Linked DNA regions of Homo sapiens: region 2 is linked to region 1. The links are contacts of gene promoters, found by promoter capture Hi-C in human tissues and cell types (Jung and others, 2019). All regions are on one chromosome and are shown on one strand. The core of a region is centred on a gene start or on the middle of the fragment in contact, and the rest is flanking DNA. Distances in the headings are between cores, read along the strand shown. Region 1 holds the start of CHRM2 (cholinergic receptor muscarinic 2). Region 2 overlaps LOC349160 (a long non-coding RNA gene).

Region 1 (4,593 bases), core at 145-2,644:
TGTCTTGGGACCCTTTCCCCCATTCTAATTGCTTCTCCTCCTTGGCCATGACCTGGAGACCGCAATGGGAAACCTCTCCAGCGCCCAAGGGCTGCTCCGAAAGCGGAGCCGGGGGACAGCTCGGAGCCCGAGCGAGCCGGGCCTCCATCCCACACGCACAGAAGACGCGGTCAGACCCCAGCAGGAAGGAACCCGAGGGGCGGGAGGGACGAAGCTCTCCTTGTCTTGTCCATGGCTGCATCTGGAGTGGGTGGCGGGAGGGGGGTCAGCAACAGTAGAGGGAATGGGGGGCTGGAATAGGGAGCGACGCCGGGACAGCGCAGCTCCCAGGCTGCTTTCGCCACATTCGGCTGGACTCAGTGACCGTCGGAATCGTAGGGGTACCTCGCCTCGCGCTGTGCCTCGTTTGCCCCTTCCTTTCAGACCCGCCATCACTGCTCGCAACCCTCCAAGCCCCAGGATCCAAAGTTTCCGTTTGAGAATCTGCACGTGGGGAGGACCTCCCTCCAATTCCCCCAAGCCCCGACCCCTGAGCCTCCGGCTTGGGGGGATATGAAGGGAGAGACCCCCTGGTGCCAGGGCCCTTGGAGTGGGTAAGCGGAGAGCTGCACAGCGCGGGGCCCTTACCTGTCGCTGGTTTCGCTCCAGTTGCCTCCCCGGCTGCGAGGTGGTGGAGGCTTGAAGGAGCGAGGAGTCCTTTGTGGGTTCAGGGCCGATCCGCTCGGGCTGGAGCTGCGCACCGCTTAGAGTCCGAGGCCAGCTGCCGGTTCTCTTTCTCCCTTGATCTTGCAAAAGAAAAGGAAAAGATTAGTTGATGCCGAGACACTGTAGGGGTGGGGCGGGAGAGGCGGGAGAGGCGGGAGAGAACCGACCCCAAGGCTCTGGCGAGAGCTGCGGGGCTGGCGCGCGCGCAGGCAGAGTCACGCACCCCACACTCGTCTCAGCCACTTGGCTAGTCTGTGACCTGTTCGTGGTTTAGACTGGAGTTAAATTGACGCTGCCCCCGCCCTCCACGCCAAACCACTAAAGGAGAAGCAAACAAGACTTTCAAACCTGGCTTTCACGAAGAGCCTGGAGACCAAAATAGAATGGAGACCTGGATGCCTCGGCGAGCTGGGCTGGATTCATTTCTTCACCAAAGTGCTTGGGGAAGTAGGAATTAGTTTTGGGAGGCAACACCTATTCGGGTACCTCGGCGATTTCCTGGTGAAATCTGCGATTTCCAGGCTCTGGCCAACCCGCAGCCTGGAGTGTGTGAGTGTGTGTGTGTCTGTGTGTGTGTGTGTGTGTGTGTGTGTGCCCGCGCGCGCTCCCTAGGTCTTTGCGCCCTGGCGCCTTTAGTACAGCAGGAGAGCGTGTCTGTATTCGTGCGTGTGTGTTCGATTAGCTGCAATGGGCGGACAATTTCTGGAGAGAACATTTACAATTTTCTTTCAGTATGACAGGATTAGTTGCTGTTGAAGGCGCTCCTCCAATGAAATCTTCTGTGCTCTCTGATTTGGCGGTTCTTCTGAGCAAATATGACAGCCGTTTCTCCAGGCTCTTTTTCGCTTCTCTCCATTTCCATCCCCAGAGCCCAGCTCTCCATCTGCAATTTCTACATCAGAACCACCCCCAACCCCGAGTCCCTTCCCTGCAAGTGTGTGAGTGCTACAAAGGTGACATGGCATATTGGGAAGAACGCAGTATTGCTTTTTGTTTGTCGGAGATACTTAAGCCCAGTTTTTCCAGGTGGGAAAATGTTAGACTAAATCCACTATGCTTTGTAAATATATAATTGTGCTGAACTATTCACAGATTGTTTATTTCTTTGGAGCTTTGACAAATGTATCCGAAGGAGAAGTAATTTTTTTCTCTTACTTTAAATATGAGCCAGTGACCATGTTTTCTTCAGCTAATGGGCAGTAGACTACAGAATATATCTATATCTATATCTGTATCTATATCTATATTCAGAATATGTGTATATCCAGAATATATATATCTAGAATATATATATATATGTCCAGGATATATATATCCAGAATATATAGATATATATATCCAGAATATATATATATATATCCAGAATATATATATATATATCCAGAATATATATATATATCCAGAATATATATATATCCAGAATATATATATATATATATGTCCAGGATATATATATCCAGAATATATATATATATATATATATATATATATATATGTCCAGGATATATATATCCAGAATATATATATATATATCCAGAATATATATATATATATATGTCCAGGATATATATATCCAGAATATATATATATATGTCCAGGATATATATATCCAGAATATATATATGTCCAGAATATATATATATCCAGAAAATATATATATATCCAGAAAATATATATATATATCTCAAAAATATATATATATATATCTCTCTCAAAAAAAAAAATATATATATATATATATATCTCCAGAATATATATATGTTTGATGCTTCAGGGAATTTGTGATCTCCATGAAAAAAGATTTAGGATGCAAACTTTCTGTGTTCAGACCTGCCTTTGATGTTTATTTCTTTATTTTAATGAGAAATTTCTGCCAATAATTGTATCTATTATTTTTAGATACTAACCTCATTTGATAAAAGTACAATGATAGGATTCTAAAGTGTAGCTTAGGCCAAAACTTGCTTTTGTAAAAGCATATGTGTATGTGAATATAACATCAATATATTATATATTACATAGGCTTTATTTTCTCTCATCCAACTTCAATCAAATAAAGAGCAAGAAGTGGAAACCTTAAATTGAATAGCCCAGAATTGGACACATCACTTTTTGGGTCACAGGGATAGACAAAGAGCAAGTTAAAGATACATTGATATAATATAATATAGTCAATTAAATTCAGTTCAGTTCTTGACGTCCAGGGTTTTGCTAGGTATTAAAGGCCATCCACAAGAGCAAAAACCACTGTCCCTGTGTTTTTATAAGCTTCTATTCCTATTGACAAGAAAAGACACTTCATTTGAAACATCTATGTAACAGTTGACAATCCAATGATTAATTTTATAGCAATGTAAATTTATTGATAAATGGAAATGCTGTAGCTGAAAGTTTCTGCCCTTTTTGTTAACTCATAGCTATCACCAAGCAGGACTTGACACAAAGTTGATTTTGCTTGATTGAAGTCATCCTAAAATGCAGCATTACAATACTGTGTCTCTGCCTTCAACCTCCATACTTACATCCCACCATCACTGGGTGATTATAAGATACCTGTGAGAAAATCAAAACAGCCCTGCTAAGTCTTGTTCTCAGCCTCTCCCAGCATTTGTTCCACTACATTAAATATCTGATTTTGTCATCTCTCCTCTCTTAGACACTCTTTTCAGAATGAATTCACATTTTCCTTTTTTACTCCATTATTTCTGTCTACTGAGCCTCCATAAACCCATGAAGCTGCTTGAGTCTTTTGGAACACACACACAGACACACACCCATCAAAGCAAAAAAGTGAGGAGAAATAGATCCCTGGCCAGCAATAGACAGGAAAACCCAGTGATTTGTTACTTTTTTGTTCCTTTACATCATTAAGAACACTAAGCCCCCTTTTACTAATAAAGCTGCACATTCCAAAATGAGCAACCAAATAAATAACCAATGAAGGCAAACGAATATTTTTCTTAAACCTCAATAAAACAGAGTCTATGTGTGACTGAAGTGCTATGTTTAATAGAAGTCAGTATACTTAAGGCCTTTTGGAGAGGAGTTGCACAGGGAAGCATCATTTTTAGCCAACGGTCATCAATTATGTCCATTTTCTTTTTCTAGGTCATCACTTAGAACACATCTTTATATAGACTTGTAACTCTGCCATTCACTGTGATTTTAGGGAAGTTGTTTAACTTTTCTTTGCCTCAGCTTCTTAAACCATAAAATGGGTATAGCATACATGTCGGGGTTGGTAGGAGGGATAATGGAAGTAATTCATGTGAAATTCTTAAAAGAGCATGTGACACATAGCAAATTGCTATAAATATAACATTGTCGGTCAAGACTGAAAAATACAGTTTCTTGGGTCACACCTGTGACCTCTGAAACAGAGTATTAAGGAGTGATTCTTGACAATGCAAACCATAATGCTCATCACCATCATATAATTAACAAGATAAACATAATCCATCAGCATTCTGACCCCAGGGAACTTAATTCTTTTCTTCTTCTAGTTGCTGTTTCCATACAAGAAATGATCATGTGTATTCTGAGTGTTTTATTTTAATCTCTTAAGCCAGTTCGTTTTCTGAGGAAAAAAAAAAGAATACTCCCCACCCAAGGAATATAGCATTTATATGATTAGTAACTCTTGGTGTGGAACATTTTCGTTTGTCTGTTTTTCGTGAGATGGAGTCTCACTCCGTCGCCCAGGCTGGAGTGCAGTAGCATGATCTTGGGCTCACTGCAACCTCTGACTCCCAGGTTCAAGCAGTTCTACTGCCTCAGCCTCCCAAGTAGCTGGGATTACAGGCACCTGCCACTGCGCCCAGCTATTTTTGTATTTTTTGTAGATACGGCGTTTCACCGTGTTGGCCAGGCTGGTCTCGAATTCCTGAC
Region 2 (4,813 bases), core at 324-2,823, 240 kb before region 1:
TATTGTGAATAGTGCTGCAATAAACATATGTGTGCATGTGTCTTTATAGTAGAATGATTTATAATCCTTTGGGCATATACCCAGTAATGGGATTGCTGGGTCAAATGGTATTTCTGGTTCTAGATCCTTGAGGAATTGCCATACTGTCTTCCACAATGGTTGAACTAATTTACACTCCCAGCAATAGTGTAAAAGTGTTCCTATTTCTCCACATCCTCTCCAGCATCTGTCGTTTCCTGACTTTTTAATGATTGCCATTTTAACTGGAGTGAGATGGTATCTTATTGTGGTTTTGATTTGCATTTCTCTAATGACCAGTGATGATGAGCTTTTTTTCATAGTTTCTTGGCCACATAAATGACTTTTTTGAGAAGTTTCTGTTCATGTCCTTCACCAACTTCTTGATGGGGTGGTTTGTTTTTTCTTGTAAATTTATTTAAGTTCCTTGTAGATTCTGGATATTTGCCCTTTGTCAGATCAGTAGATGGCAAAAATTTCCTCCCATTCTGTAGGTTGCCTGTTCACTCTGATAATAGTTTCTTTTGCTATGCAGAATCTCTTTAGTTTAATTAGATCCCATTTGTCAATTTTGGCTTTTGTTGCCCTTGCTTTTGGTATTTTAGTCATGAAGTCCTTGCCCATGCCTGTGTCCTGAATGGTATTGCCTAGGTTTTCTTCTAGGGTTTTTATGGTTTTAGGTCTAACATTTAAGTCTTTAATACATCTTGAGTTAATTTTTGTATAAGTTGTAAGGAAGGGTTCCAGTTTCAGTTTTCTGCATATGGCTAGCCAGTTTTCCCAACACCATTTATTAAATAGGTAACCTTTCCCCATTGCTTGTATTTGTCAGGTTTGTCAAAGATCAGATGGTTGCAGATGTGTGGCGTTATTTCTGGGGCCTCTGTTCTGTTCCGTTGGTCTATATGTCTGTTTTGGTGCAAGTAGCATGCTGTTTTGGTTACTGTAGCCTTGTAGTATAGTTTAAGGTCAGGTAATGTGATGCCTCCAGCTTTGTTCTTTTTGCTTAGGATTGTCTTGGCTATATGGGCTCTTTTTTGGTTCCATATGAAATTTAAAGTAGTTTTTTTCAAATTCTATGAAGAAAGTCAATGGTAGCTTGACGGGAATAGCATTGAATCTATAAATTACTTTGGGCAGTATGGCCATTTTCATGATATTGATTCTTCCTATCCACGAGCATGGAATGTTTTACCATTTGTTTGTGTCCTCTCTTATTTCCTTGAGAAGTAGTTTGTAGTTCTCCTTGAAGAGGTCCTTCACATCCCTTGTAAGTTGTATTCCTAGGTATTTGAATCTCTTTGTAGCAATTGTGAATGGGAGTTCACTCATGATTTGGCTCTCTGTTTGTCTATCATTGGTGTATAGGAATGCTTGTGATTTTTGCATGTTGATTTTGTGTCCTTAGACTTTGCTGAAGTTGCTTATCAACTTCAGGAGATTTTGGGCTGAGGCAATGGGGTTTTCTAAATTTACAATCATGCCATCTGCAAACAGAGACAATTTGACGTCTTCTCTTTATATTTGAATACCCTTTATTTCTTCCTCTTGCCTGATTGCCCTGGCCAGAACATCCAATACTATGTTGAATAGGAGTGGTGAGGGAGGGCATCCTTGTCTTGTGCTGGTTTTCAAAGGGAATGCTTCCAGATTTTGCCCATTCAGTATGATATTGGCTGAGGGTTTGTCATAAATAGCTCTTAATATTTTGAGATACATTCCATCAATACCTAGTTTATTGAGAGTTGTTAGCATGAAGGGGTGTTGAATTTTATTGAAGGCCTTTTCTGCATCTATTGAGATAATTGTCATTGGTTCTGTTTATGTGATGGATTACGTTTATTGATTTGTGTATGTTGAACCAGCCTTGCATCCCAGAGATGAAGCCAACTTGGTTGTGGTGGATAAGCTTTTTGATGTGCTGCTGGATTTGGTTTGCCAGTATTTTACTGAGGATTTTTGCGTCGATGTTCATCAGGGATATTGGCCTGAAATTTTGTTTTTTTGATGTGTCTCTTCCAGGTTTTGGTTTCAGGATGATGCTGGCTTTATAAAATGAGTTAGAGAGGAGTACCTCTTTTCCTGTTGTTTGCAATAGTTTCAGGAGGAATGGTACCAGCTCCTCTTTGTACCTCTGGTAGAATTCGGCTGTGAAGCCATCTCTTCCTGGGCTTTTTTTTGTTGTTGTTGTTGTTTGGTTGGTAGGCTATTAATTACTGCCTCAATTTCAGACCTTGTTATTGGTCTATTCAGGGATTCGACTTCTTCCTGATTTAGTCTTGGGAGGGTGTATATGTCCAGGAATTTATCCATTTCTTCTAGATGCTCTGGTTTATTTGCGTTAAGGTGTTTATAGTATTCTCAGATGTTAGTTTTTATTTCTGTGGGATCAGTGGTGATCTCCCCTTTATCATTTTTATTGTGTCTATTTGTTTCTTCTCTCTTTTCTTCTTTAGTAGTCTGGCTAGCAGTCTATCTATTTTGTTAATCGTTTCAACAATCCAGCTCCTGGATTCATTGATTTTTTGAAGGGTTTTTCATGTCTTCTCTCCTTCAGTTCTGCTCTGAATTTAGTTATTTCTTGTCTTCTTCTAACTTTTAAATATGTTTGCTCTTGCTTCTCTAGTTTTTCTAATTGTGATGTTAGGGTGAAGCTTAGTTTGGCTGGATATGAAATTTTGGGTTGAAAATTCTTTAAAAATGTTGAATATTGGCCCCCACTCCCTTCTGGCTTGTAAGGTTTCTGCAGAGAGATCCATTGTTAGTCTGATGGGCTTCCCTTTGTGGGTAACCCGACCTTTCTCTCTGGCTGTCCTTAACATTTTTTCTTTCATTTCAACCTTGGTGAATCCAACGATTATGTGTCTTGGGGTTGCTCTTCTCGAGGATTATCTTTGTGGTGTTCTCTGTATGTCTTGAATTTGAATGTTGGCCTGTCTTCCTAGGTCGGGGAAGTTCTGGATGATATCTTGAAGAGTGTTTTCAACTTGGTTCCATTCTCCTCATCACTTTCTGGTACACCAATCAAATGTAGGTTTGGTCTTTTCACATAGTTCCATATTTCTTGGAGGCTTTGTTTGTTCCTTTTCATTCTTTTTTTCTCTGATTTTGTCACACTTTATTTCATTAAGTTGGTCTTCAGTCTCTGATATCATTTCTTCCACTTGATCTATTCAGCTTGTGTATGCTTCACCAAGTTCTCATGCTGTGTTTTTCAGCTCCATCAGATCATTTATGTTCTTCTCTAAATTGGTTATTCTAGTGAGCAATTCCTCTAACCTTTTATCAAGGTTCTTATCGTCCTTGCATTGGGTTAGAACATGCTCCTTTAGCTTGGAGGACTTTGTTATTACCTGCCTTCTGAAGCCTACTTCTGCCAGTTCGTCAAACTCATTCTCTATCCAGTTTTGTTCCCTTGCTGGTGAGGAGTTGTGATCCTTTGGAGAAGAGGTGTTCTGGTTTTTGGAATATTCAGCCGTTTTTCACTGATTTTTCCTCATCTTCGTGGATTTATCTGCCTTTGGTCTTTGATGTTGATGACCTTCAGATGGGGTTTTTGTGTTGACGTCTTTTTCGTTGATGTTAATTCTATTCCTTTCTGTTGTTAGTTTTCCTTCTAATAGTCAAGTCCCTCTACTGCAGGTCTGCTGGAGTTCGCTGGAGGTCCACTCCAGACCCTGTTTGCCTGGGTATCACCAGCGGAGGCTGCAGAACTGCAAAGATTGCTGCCTTTTCCTTCCTCTGGAAGCTTCTTCCCAGAGGGGCATTTGCCAGTTGCCAGCCAGAGCTGTCCTGTATGAGGAGCCTGTTGACCCCTGCTGGGAGGTGTCTCCAAATCAGGAGGCATGGGTGTCAGGGGCTAACTTGAGGAGGCAGTCTGTCTCTTAGCAGAGCTCGAGAACTGTGCTGGGAGATCCACTGCTGTCTTTAGAGCCGGCAGGTAGGAACATTTAACTCTGCTGAAGCTGCGCACACAGCTGCCCCTTCCCCCAGGTACTCTGTCCTAGGGAGATGGGAGTTTTATCTATAAGCCCCTGACTGGGGTGGCTGCCTTTCTTTCAGAGATGCCCTACCCAGAGAGGAGGAATCTAAAGAGGCAGCCTGGCTACAGCGGCTTTGTTTACACTGTGAGGGGAAAACTGCCTAGTTAAGCCTCAGTAATGGTGACTAACCGCCCCCCACCAAGCTTGAGCATCCCAGGTCGACTTCAAACTGCTATGCTGGCAGCGAGAATTTCAAGCCAGTGTATCTTAGCTTGCTGGGCTCTGTGGAGGTGGGGTCCGCTAAGCTAGACCACTTGGCTCCCTGGCTTCAGCCCTCTTTCCAGGGGAGTGAACGGTTCTGTCTCGCTGGTGTTCCAGGTGCCACTGGGGTATGAAAAAAAAGCTCCTGCAGCTAGCTTGGTGTCAGCCCAAATGGCTGTCCAGTTTCGTGCTTGAAAACCTGGGTCCTGGTGGTGTAGGCACCCAAGGGAATCTCCTGGTCTGCAAGTTATGAAGACCATGGGAAAAGCTTAGTATCTGGGCCGGAATGCACCATTTCTCACAGTGCTTCCCTTGGCTAGGGGAGTGAGTTCCTTGACCCCTTGCCCTTCCCGGGTAAGGCAGCGCCCCACCTTGCTTCTGCTTGCTCTCCGTGGGCTGCACACACTGTCTACCCAGCCCCAATGAGATGAGTCAGGTACCTCAGAAATGCGGAAATCACCCGTGTTCTGCGTTTATTTGGCTGGGGGCTGCTCCTATCCAGCTGTCTTGCCCAGGTCCCCTGGAAAATAAAGTTTTCAATAGCATGTTCC

The links. The method cuts DNA at HindIII sites, captures the fragments that hold promoters and counts their contacts. A contact is called where the count stands out against the background at its distance.
Region 2: a contact is called between a fragment that was not itself captured here and the fragment with the promoter of CHRM2 in region 1, in 1 of the 25 tissues and cell types used here (pancreas).

The regions. Positions count from the first base shown.
Region 1 is chr7:136,865,453-136,870,045 of GRCh38, reverse strand. It overlaps CHRM2 (cholinergic receptor muscarinic 2), which reads right to left and starts at 1,394. Exons shown (of 4, transcript NM_001006630.2): 1 at 1,054-1,394; 2 at 628-785. RefSeq lists an enhancer at 1-715. The HindIII fragment of the contact is 6,446 bases long and covers 1-3,924 here.
Region 2 is chr7:137,103,085-137,107,897 of GRCh38, reverse strand. All of the region lies in intron 1 of LOC349160 (a long non-coding RNA gene), which reads left to right. Among named protein-coding and RNA genes, the nearest start is that of MIR490, 200 kb to the right of the region's middle. The HindIII fragment of the contact is 5,588 bases long and covers 1-4,367 here.